3 separate regions of the Homo sapiens genome follow, and all the other regions are linked to region 1. Evidence: promoter capture Hi-C in human tissues and cell types (Jung and others, 2019). All regions are on one chromosome and are shown on one strand. Each heading gives the region's core, a stretch centred on a gene start or on the middle of the fragment in contact. The rest is flanking DNA. Distances are from core to core; before and after follow the strand shown.

Region 1 (3,087 bases), core at 305-2,804:
GCTAGAGAAGGGAAACCTCATCTGTCTGAAGGGCGTGCATCTCTCTGCCCTGCGTTGCGGAGGAGGCTTTCGTTAAAGAGACTGCACGCTGCGGAGCAGGGTGGGTCCGGGTCAGGGCTGTGCCCTGGACTGTGCCTGGGAGGCAGGGACCCGGGCTCAGACTCGGGGCTAGGCTCAGGCTCCGTGTGCCCTCCCGAGCCACTCACCGAAGGCTTCGATGCACCCGCGGAGCAGCTCCTCCACCGTGCAGCCCTTGTCCAGGTCCAGGGTGCCTGCCATGGCCGCCGGCGCGGGGTGGGCTGGGCCCAGGCTGCGCTCCGGGAGCCTCCCACCGGGCTCGGACCGAACCCCTGTCCCGGGAGAGGCAGAGCGGGAGTCTGCGGAGTCGCGGGCGGGGGAGCGGCCCCGCGGGCAGAAACGGGGCGGGGCGGGCACGCCCCCTGCTGGACAGGGGCGGAGTTGTCCCCCGCGGCCACTCCCGGGGTTAAACGGTCTGGCCCGGGATGGTGCAACCCGCCAGTTGGGAAACGGACCCGCAGAGAGGCTTCCGGCCCACCCTCGGAGTCGCGGGAAGGCCGAGGGGCTTCACGAGGATGGGGACGAACCAAGATCCCAGGACTGGCTGGCGCCCAGCCCCCCGCAGGGCGCCTTCTCCTCGCGCCCTCTCCCCAGAGGCACCTGCAGCACCCCGCAGCTCGGCTCTGCGCCCCTCCCGCTTCCCTCCCTCCACAGCCTCCCTTCCCCCGCAGGGTTATTTTGGGAACCCAGAGCCTGAGGGGACCTCGGAGGAATTTCTCCCTGGTATGGGAGGTGGGGGGAGAGAACCCAGGCGTCCTGCCCGCCTCGCCCCCTCCCGGGAGCCCAGGAAGGCGAGGCGGGGCTGCGGCAGCCCCCAGGGGGCCTGCCCTAGGGGAGGCGGACTGGATGGGAGAGGAACATTCCTGGGGCGGGGGGAGCCCGCTGCGGCCAGGAGGCGTCAGCGGGAAGCCTGAGCCTGGGAACTGAGCGCTCCCAGGCCACCTCCGCAAAGGTCCCAGGGGTCCCGGCTCAGCTTGTCCACAGGCCCTCTTCCTCCCTATCCCCGGCTCCTGACCCTGGCCCCGGCCCCGCACAGGCGAACTGTGAGCGCGCACGGAGCAGGGTGTCCAGAGGGGGGCGCTCGCGCCAAGGGTGGCCGGTGGGTGCATGACACCATTAGCAACTCCGGTCACTGGCGGGGTCATACGCACCCTGGCAGGGGCAAACACTCCACACCCAAGTTATTCGTCGGAGGCCGGGGACCTAAGTGGAGGTGCAGGCGTCCGCACTTACACGCACCGGGCCACAGGCACCGGCCTCCCATCCTCCGTCTCTCACACACAATGGCACCCACACCCTGTGCACACCTGCACGAAGAAACCCTCAGGCACACATACCCAGCTCGTCCACCCCAGAATGCAAACCCGCGGACGAGGTCGCCTCCTGGACGTGCTGTTCACTTGAGCCAGGCCAGCCTTGAGTCCCGCGGCCACACAGGCGCTGACATCCTCACACGTGTGCACACACGCAAGGCAGTGCCTCTCCACGCATGTACACTCCCACACACATGCACACACCCCCATGGGTGCGCACGCCCATTCCGTCGCCCCCCTCCCATTTGCGGTGCAGGGCCCGCCCTGCGGCCCCAGCTCCCTGACTCCCCTCACTCCCAGATTTTGGCAGAGCCTTGCCCCACGGAAAGGTACCCCGGCCCTACACATACTCACTCCCCCAGGCTGGAGGACAGGGGAGCTCCTGTACGGAGTTCTCAGGCGGACTTTTCCTAAGAGCCACCCAGAGCCGTCCCCGCCTGGCTCTACCGCTTCCTCGTGTGACCTTGAGAATCACTTGGCCTCTGGGAGCCTCAATTTTCTCATCTGCCAAATGGGGGTACGCGGGGGAGGGCCCCGCTGGAAGGTGGCTGGGAAAAGCTGGGTGCACCGTGGAGGTCCTCCGCCCTCCGGGGATCCAGCGCGCCTTAGCTCTCGTGGCCGCTGCCCCCTCTCCCAGACCCGGGCCGCAGACTCCCCACCCGCTCGCCGCCCCCAGCCCGCCCGCGCCGCCCTGGGCGGGGGGGGAGTCGCTGGGGGCCGCGCCCTCCTTCGCCTGGCGCCCCGCCCGCGCTCGCCCACTCACTCTTGGGACCTGCCGCAAGGAGCCCGCACCGGCCTGGCCGACCCCACCTCCGTGCGCTCCCGCCCGCCGGCCTCGCTGCGGCTGCGGCTCCCGCCCGCTCTCCACGCCGCGGCCCCGCTCCCCGCCGCCCCGCCCCCGCCCCCGCGCCAGGCTGCCCCCTCCCCCCTCCGCCCCTGCGCGGAGCTCCGCACCGCCGGCTGCGCCACCCCCACCGGGGGCTCCCTCTCGCCCCGCACGCGGCGGTCCCTGCGGCAGCTTAACCCCTCCCCTGCCGCGCCGCCCGGGAGGCCAGGGCCGCGGGCGGGGGGCTGCGCCACTAGCTGCCCCGAGGGCGGGCGACCGGAGGCCCCGCCGCCCGGGACGCGGAGGGGGGACCGAAACGAAGAGCCCCTCCCCCAACCGCGGACGCCCCAGTGCCCCCCGCCCTGCCTGGGTGTCGGGCGGAGGAAGCCGGGAGGGGCAGGAAGCGGACTGCGGTGGGGAAGGGGCGCCCCGCCCAGCCCCCAGCTCGGGTTCCTGTTTTCGAGACAAACCGTTCCCATGGGGCTAACCCGGCCCGGGACCGGGCGTCTTCCTGCAGGCAGCGGGTGGCACAGGCCTAGTGGAGGTCGGGGGCGTGGGGACAGCTGGTCCTTGAGATAGTCTGGGGGATGGGCTAGGACAAGATGGGAATATTTTGGGGAGAGGGACCTGTGGGGAGCGAGGAATGAAATCGTGGCTATCTGGAGACGCGGCCTTGATGTCTGGGAATGGGGGCGGGGGGCCCAGTTCACACAGGAGGAACGGGGCCCCGGAAGCCTGGCTCCCCACAGGGTCGAATGGAAAGGGGCAGCCGCATGTGGCGGTGGGTTCTCCGCAGCTCGGAGACTGGAGACCTGGATGCCTGGCCAACAGGGAGGAACTTGGGAGGGGCAGCCGCAGGCGGTTGGGGTC
Region 2 (3,087 bases), core at 233-2,732, 310 kb after region 1:
GACTTAAGTTGAATATTCAAAACTATTTCACAGGAGGACTTAGACTTCTGGAATACCAAACCTGAAAATTGTACTCAACCCCTTTATTTCCTACAGCTCAGAGAGGGTCAGGGAGGCATCCGAGGCCACACAGCCCATTGGTGGGACAACCCGAAAACACCTTGCCTTTCCTGCCCCACCCTGGGGCTTGGTTCCCCACTCAACACTGCCTCTTCTCCTTCCCCTTCCCCTCACTTCCTCCAGTCCACTGCCCAGCCCCTTCCTCACCGAGGCCTCCTGCACTGGGGGACTGCCACTCACCTTGGCCCCACGCCCTACACCCCCATATCGAGTCAGGGCAATGGTGCCTTCAAGTTTGATGCCCTGAGTCTGTAGCTCCTTAAAGTCTTCTTCCGCGCCCCGGTTGGCATAGACGAGGAGGCCCTAGTCCCAAGAGGGGGTGATCCTTAGAGCTGGGCCCAGCGAAGTGTGGGTGGGGAAGGGGGGTGGAAGTTTGCATGGCAGGAGGGAGAATTTAGATTCTGTTCCCCCACCTCACCCAGAGCTTGTAAGCTCCCCAAGAACAGTCACCCCTCATTTCCTCCATGTCTGGGTGCCCTGTAACAGACCTGGCCTTGAGCAGAGCCACTAGTGTTTGTTGAATGACTGATGGAGGAAAGGAGCAGCGATGGAGTGTCCCGGTGAGTAAATTCCGGAGGGCGCGCTGTGCCCCAGTTGAGGCACGTTCCCTGGGTCAGGGTGGGGAGAACCCTGGGTGGAACCAAGGGAGCTGGGCCAGAGCAGTAGGGGGGGTTCTGGGCCCACCTGTGGGGTTCCAGAAGGAGCATAGGCAGCATAGGGTTGTACCACATCTGGCCCCCCTTGCTCCCCGGTCACGTTCTCCTCAGTCCGGTGGCAGGAGTGGATGATGCCCCCAGTGGGGCCCACTGTTGGAGGGGTGGCAGTATCATGGCTGGGCCCAGCAGCTCCCCACCCCCGGGCATTCCCAAGACTGGGCAGGACCTCACCGATGTCCACGACGTTGGGCTGCTCCTGGCTAGGGAAGGACAGCAGCACTTCGTACGTGGAGGCCTCGGCCGAGTCCAGGCCTGACTCTGGGTCCTTCCAGCGCTGCAGCAGCAGCTGCACCAGGTCCTCATCCCGAGGGCTGGAGGCCAGGTGTGGCTCCCTGGAGAGTTCTCTGCAGGGTGGGCAGAGGGAGGGGCAGGGCCAGCATCAGGGAGGGGGCCTCTGGCAAACGGAGGAGCAGATGGCCCCACTTCTCACCTGAGGTTCTCCCGGATCCTGTGGGCATCCAGCTGCCCCATGACGGTCTCCAGGATCTCCAGGTCCAGGTCCTGGGGGGCCAGTGAGTTGGCTTTTTTGGGGATGGCAAAGTGGCCGAGGATGATCCCCAGCCCCAAGAGGGCAGCAGCCCCCAGCCCCAGCCCCAACACCTTCGTCCACTGCATCCTGCGGACTCTTGGCCAGCTGGGGTAGGACTGGTCTATAGGTTATTCCCTATAGAGGGGGTGTTGTGCCTGGTTAAACATTACCCCATGGGTGGCACTGCCCTTTGACCCCCAGCTGGCAGGGAGAGTGAGGGAACATCCCGCAGTGAGAGCCAGGAGCCATCCACATCCACCACATCCTGCACCATTTGCCTGGAATGGCTCTCCAAGGGCAGCAAGGTCACCCAGGGACACTGAAGCCGAGAGGGAAGGGGCTCATCCAGGGTGTCCCAGGAAAACAGAGGCCAAGCCAGGGCTGGAACTCAGAGCTCCTGTGTTCACAGCAGGGCCGTGCCCACTGCCCACCCTCACTGCCTCTGCCTCCCTCCAAGGCAGCCGATCTACAGCATACCCAGCCCTACCTGCCTGAGCAGATTTTGAGTTGAGATCCCCCTTCTTGCTGGACGTAAGCTGTGTGACCTTGGGCAATCCACTCAGCTTCTCTACACCTGTTTTCTTTTTTTTTTTTCTAGACTGTGTCTTCCACTGACACCCAGGCTGGAGTCCAGTGGTGTGATCTCGGCTCACTGCAACCTCCACCTCCCGGGCTCAAGTGATTCTCCTGCATCGGCCTCCCGAGTAGCTGGGATTACGGGTGTGCACCACCATGTCCAGCTAATTTTTGTATTTTTAGTAGAGATGGGGTTTCACCATGTTGGCCAGGCTGGTCTCAAACTCCTGATCTCAGGTGATCACCCGCCTCAGCCTCCCAAAGTGCTGGGATGACAGGAGTGAGCCACCGTGCCGGCTATGGTGTCATTTTCATTAAACAATATGGCATCTGTAGAAATAGCTAGTGCAGTGTCTGACATGTAGTGGGAGCTCATCAATTTTAACTACTCATCCCTCATCTGACTCTGGAAAATGTAAGGCCTAGAGCTAAAGGAAGAAGGAGGACCCAGAAGAACTCTCTGTGTCTATCCTGAAGGGAGCCCAGCGATACGAGGAATGGGAGTCCTGGGAAGGGAGGCTGTCCCAGAGGAGGCAGCAGGGGAAGCCCATGCCTCCCTGGCGAGGTGACTTCCTCTTCTATCCCCTGGCTCTGCCTGGACTCCGTCATCCACCCTCCTATTTATCCATCCACCCATCCCTCCATTCACTTATTCATTCCTTCCTTTATACATGCAAGCACTGTTCATTCTGTGCTATACTAGAGCCATGCAAGGCTGTGGGGAAGCAAAATCCAGCAGGCGAGGCAGACAGGCTTTAGGTTCAGCCATGTGGTAAGTGCCCTGTAGAGGGAGGATCACCATGCTCCCAGTGAAAGAGTGAGGAGTTCTGACTAGGAGGGAACATCTGAGGGGGTCCTCCAAGGCTGAAAAGGTGTTCCAGCATTTGCAAGGGCTGAGAGGGAAGTGAGACCCCAAGTATGCCATACACATACTGAGCCTCTTCCAGACCTCACGGAGAGCCAGGAGGGGCTGGGGGGGTCCCTAGGGACTTGAGCTGGGACTTCTCCCACCCTCCCATGGCCTATCCTGCCTTGACTCTGCCTCGCAGGTTGCAGCCCATGGATGGGCTCAAAGATGCCTGCAGAGCTTGGGGGCTGGATCAGGGCAGAGCGTGTGTGTGTGTGTGTGTGTGTGTGCACGTGCAT
Region 3 (3,087 bases), core at 426-2,925, 280 kb after region 1:
TTTCTCCCATCTCTCCTTTTTTTTTTTTTTTTTTTTTTGAGACGGAGTCTCACTCTGTCCTCTGTCTCCCAGGCTGGAGTGCAGTGGCACGATCTCAGCTCACTGCAACCTCTGCCTCCTGGTTTCAGGCAATTCTCTGCCTCAGCCTCCCAAGTAGCTGGGATTACAGGCACCCGCCACCATGCCCAGCTAATTTTTGTATTTTTAGTAGAGACGGGGTTTCACCATCTTGGTCAGGCTGGTCTTGAACTCCTGACTTCCTAATCCACCCACCTCTGCCTCCCAAACTGCTGGGATTACAGGCGTGAGCCACCACGCCCGGCCCCCATCTCTCCTCTTTAGGGTGGCTCATTGGGATCCATTTTGTTAACACCAACAATTAGTTTCACACCCAGCGTGTAAGACAGAAGGGTGTGCTCACGCGTCTGCCCATTCTTGGAATTACCAGCTTCAAATTCATCAACACCAGCAGCAACAATCAGGACAGCACAATTAGCCTGAGGTCAGGTTTTTGATAAAGTCTCTGCATCCTGGGCCATTGAGGATGGTCACATAGTACTTGCTGGTCTCAATTGCCAGCAGGGAGGTATCAGTGGTGATACCACTCTCACGTTCAACTTTCAGCTTACCCAAGACCCAGGTATGCTTGAAGGAGCCCTTTCCCATCTCAGCAGCTTCCTCAAAATTGTCGATGGTTCTTTTGTGGATCCCACCACACTTGTAGATCAGATGGCCAGTAGTGCTGGACTTGCCCAAATCAGATGATGATGTTGAGCTGAGTCTTTTCCCTCCCCTGCTCCCTTTCTTTTGAGATGGAGTCTCACTCTGTTGCCCAGGCTGGAGTGCAGTGGTGTGATTGCAGCTCACTGCAGCCTCAACCTCCTGGGCTGAAGCCATCAGCCAGCTCAGCCCCTGGAGTAGCTGGAATTACAGGCGTGCGCCACCACGCCCAGCTAATTTTTGTATTTTTAGTAGAAACGGGGTTTCACCATGTTGGCCAGGCTGGTCTTGAACTCCTGACCTCAAGTGATCCACCTGCCTCCACTGCCCAAAATGCTGGGATTACAGGCGTGAACCACCGCGCCAAACCCCCATTTTGGCTTTGATTTAACGGTGGTTTTCACGACACCTGTGTTCTGGCAGCAAACCCATCGCAAAAAAGCTCCACTGCCCTACACAGATTCTATTATAAACATCTCCATTCTACAGATGAGAAACTGAGGCTGAGTAGTTAAGGGAAACTCCTACAGCTAGTAAGAGTCGTGACTCAGAGCCCATGACACCATCCTGCTTCTCCAACCTTCTTTGCTTCCTCTACTTTCCAGAAAACATGAATTAGGGAATCCTGTGGAGGGAGACAGGGAAATAATTTGACGTTGTCCTGTACATACTGGACACAATAAGAGTTGGGTGGATGAACGAAAGCAGGGATTTAGGAAGCGGGGAGAAGTCGTTTGGAAGTCTGTGACAAGGGTTTACGCTTGGATAGGGTGGGCTTGATCACCCGGCAGAAATGAGACGAGTGATCCCAGCCTTCCCAACCAATCTTTCCAGTGACCTGGGTTTACGCTTCACCACAGAGAAGGAACTTTTCAGACGCTCCCTTGGCCGCGCACCCGGGATCGGAACAGCGCTGTCACTTGCGACAAAATCCCTAGGCCAGAGGAAGAAGAGCGCAGGCCTGGCGAGGCGGCGGCGGGCGGAGGCTGGGCCGGAGGGGTGGGGACGGCGAGGAGGTGGAGGCCGGCGCTCCGCTCCGCTCCAGCTCGGTTTCATGTCCCGCCAGGCGAAGGATGACTTCCTGCGGCACTACACAGTGTCGGACCCCAGGACTCACCCCAAGGGCTACACCGAGTACAAAGTAACCGCGCAGGTGAGGTGGGGCCCAGCGCGTACTTTACCCTTTTAACTAGAGGGGCGCCGAGTTTTACCTTAAGGAAAGGCGGTGCAGCCACTGCTCCCTTTTTAGACGACAGAAATGGGTTTCCCCTTTAAGGGGAGGTTGCAGTACGAGGCTTAGTTTACATCTTTAACCACCAGGGGGCGGGGTCCTGGGTGGGCGCTGTCTTTTTTAAAAGGGCGTTGACGGCCGTTCCCGGACAGGCAAGGCGTGTATGCCCACGCCCGGAGTGTAGTGTCTGGGCATCAGGCTGTGAATTTCTCTAAATTAACATGAAAACTCTGGTTTAATCCAAATATTAGTACTCCATTCTCGTAGAGTAAGTTTTGTTTATTGGTTTGTTTGATGTTACATAAACTCCCTTTAACGAGTTTAACCATTTTTAATTTTTCAAAAAATAATACTGATCAGTGGTTGAAAAAAATTGATGCAGTTCAGAAGGACTTAAGGAGTAAGTCGCCATATCAAGGTCACAGCAGGAAGATAGATAGGCTAGAGTTGATATATGAAGCGATAACAACATCATAAGCACAATTTATAGAGAGACATGGAGGAAACCATGACAATAATTAAAAATGAAACAGTAAAACAGGACACCTGTAGAATGATAACAAGAACTGGTAACAAGGAAGGTCCCCAGGGAGAGGAACTGTGTCACTGGGGACAGGAGTTAGGGGAAGACTTTTTACTGTAAATTTTTTGTACTTTTAGAATTTTCAACCAGGCGACTATTAAGCTGGTGCATTAGTTAACTCTAAAAGCAAAGCAGGCACATAAGGACACTTCCAAAGTGATCTAAGTGCAGAATCTTAGCTATTTAAAATATGCTTTCCCCAAACCGTTTACGTCTTTTCCATGCCTAAAAATAATGCAAATAAGGCCGGGCTCAGTGGCTCATGCCTGTAAATCCCAGCACTTTGGGAGGCTGAGGCAGCAGATTGCTTGAGCTCAGGAGCTCAAGACGAGCCTGGGCAACATAGTGAGACCCCGGATCAATATTAAAATACAGACACACACACAACTTTAAAAAAAAAAAAAAAAAAAGCAAATAAATAGATTGTCCCTGGGAAGATAGACTGGAGGTGGGGCTGGGGTGGGGAGGATGTGGCAAGGAACTGTAACCTTTTATTATAAGTCTTCCCAGTGGTGGCCGGGCGCGGTGGCTCACGCCTGTAATCCCAGCACTT

What was found. Contacts are between HindIII fragments. The study calls those that stand out against the background at their distance.
Region 2: the fragment with the promoter of NAALADL1 here is called in contact with the fragment with the promoter of RASGRP2 in region 1 in 5 of the 25 tissues and cell types used here (dorsolateral prefrontal cortex, heart left ventricle, heart right ventricle and 2 more).
Region 3: the fragment with the promoter of SNX15 here is called in contact with the fragment with the promoter of RASGRP2 in region 1 in 4 of the 25 tissues and cell types used here (adrenal gland, aorta, dorsolateral prefrontal cortex and 1 more).

What each region holds. Positions count from the first base shown.
Region 1 is chr11:64,742,588-64,745,674 of GRCh38, forward strand. It overlaps RASGRP2 (RAS guanyl releasing protein 2), which reads right to left and starts at 1,555. Exons shown (of 17, transcript NM_001098671.2): 1 at 1,416-1,555; 2 at 207-350. The coding sequence starts at 279. RefSeq lists silencers at 222-551, 862-911, 1,072-1,121, 2,112-2,221, 2,472-2,671. The HindIII fragment of the contact is 18,641 bases long and covers 1-3,087 here.
Region 2 is chr11:65,057,071-65,060,157 of GRCh38, forward strand. It overlaps NAALADL1 (N-acetylated alpha-linked acidic dipeptidase like 1), which reads right to left and starts at 1,483. Exons shown (of 18, transcript NM_005468.3): 1 at 1,267-1,483; 2 at 1,008-1,180; 3 at 805-926; 4 at 301-423. The coding sequence starts at 1,451. The HindIII fragment of the contact is 22,908 bases long and covers 1-3,087 here.
Region 3 is chr11:65,025,764-65,028,850 of GRCh38, forward strand. SNX15 (sorting nexin 15) reads left to right here and starts at 1,676. Exons shown (of 8, transcript NM_013306.5): 1 at 1,676-1,873. The coding sequence starts at 1,775. It overlaps ARL2-SNX15 (ARL2-SNX15 readthrough (NMD candidate)), which reads left to right. Exons shown (of 11, transcript NR_037650.2): 4 at 1,555-1,873. It also overlaps the pseudogene EEF1A1P18. RefSeq lists an enhancer at 1,494-1,788 and a silencer at 1,638-1,807. The HindIII fragment of the contact is 29,710 bases long and covers 1-3,087 here.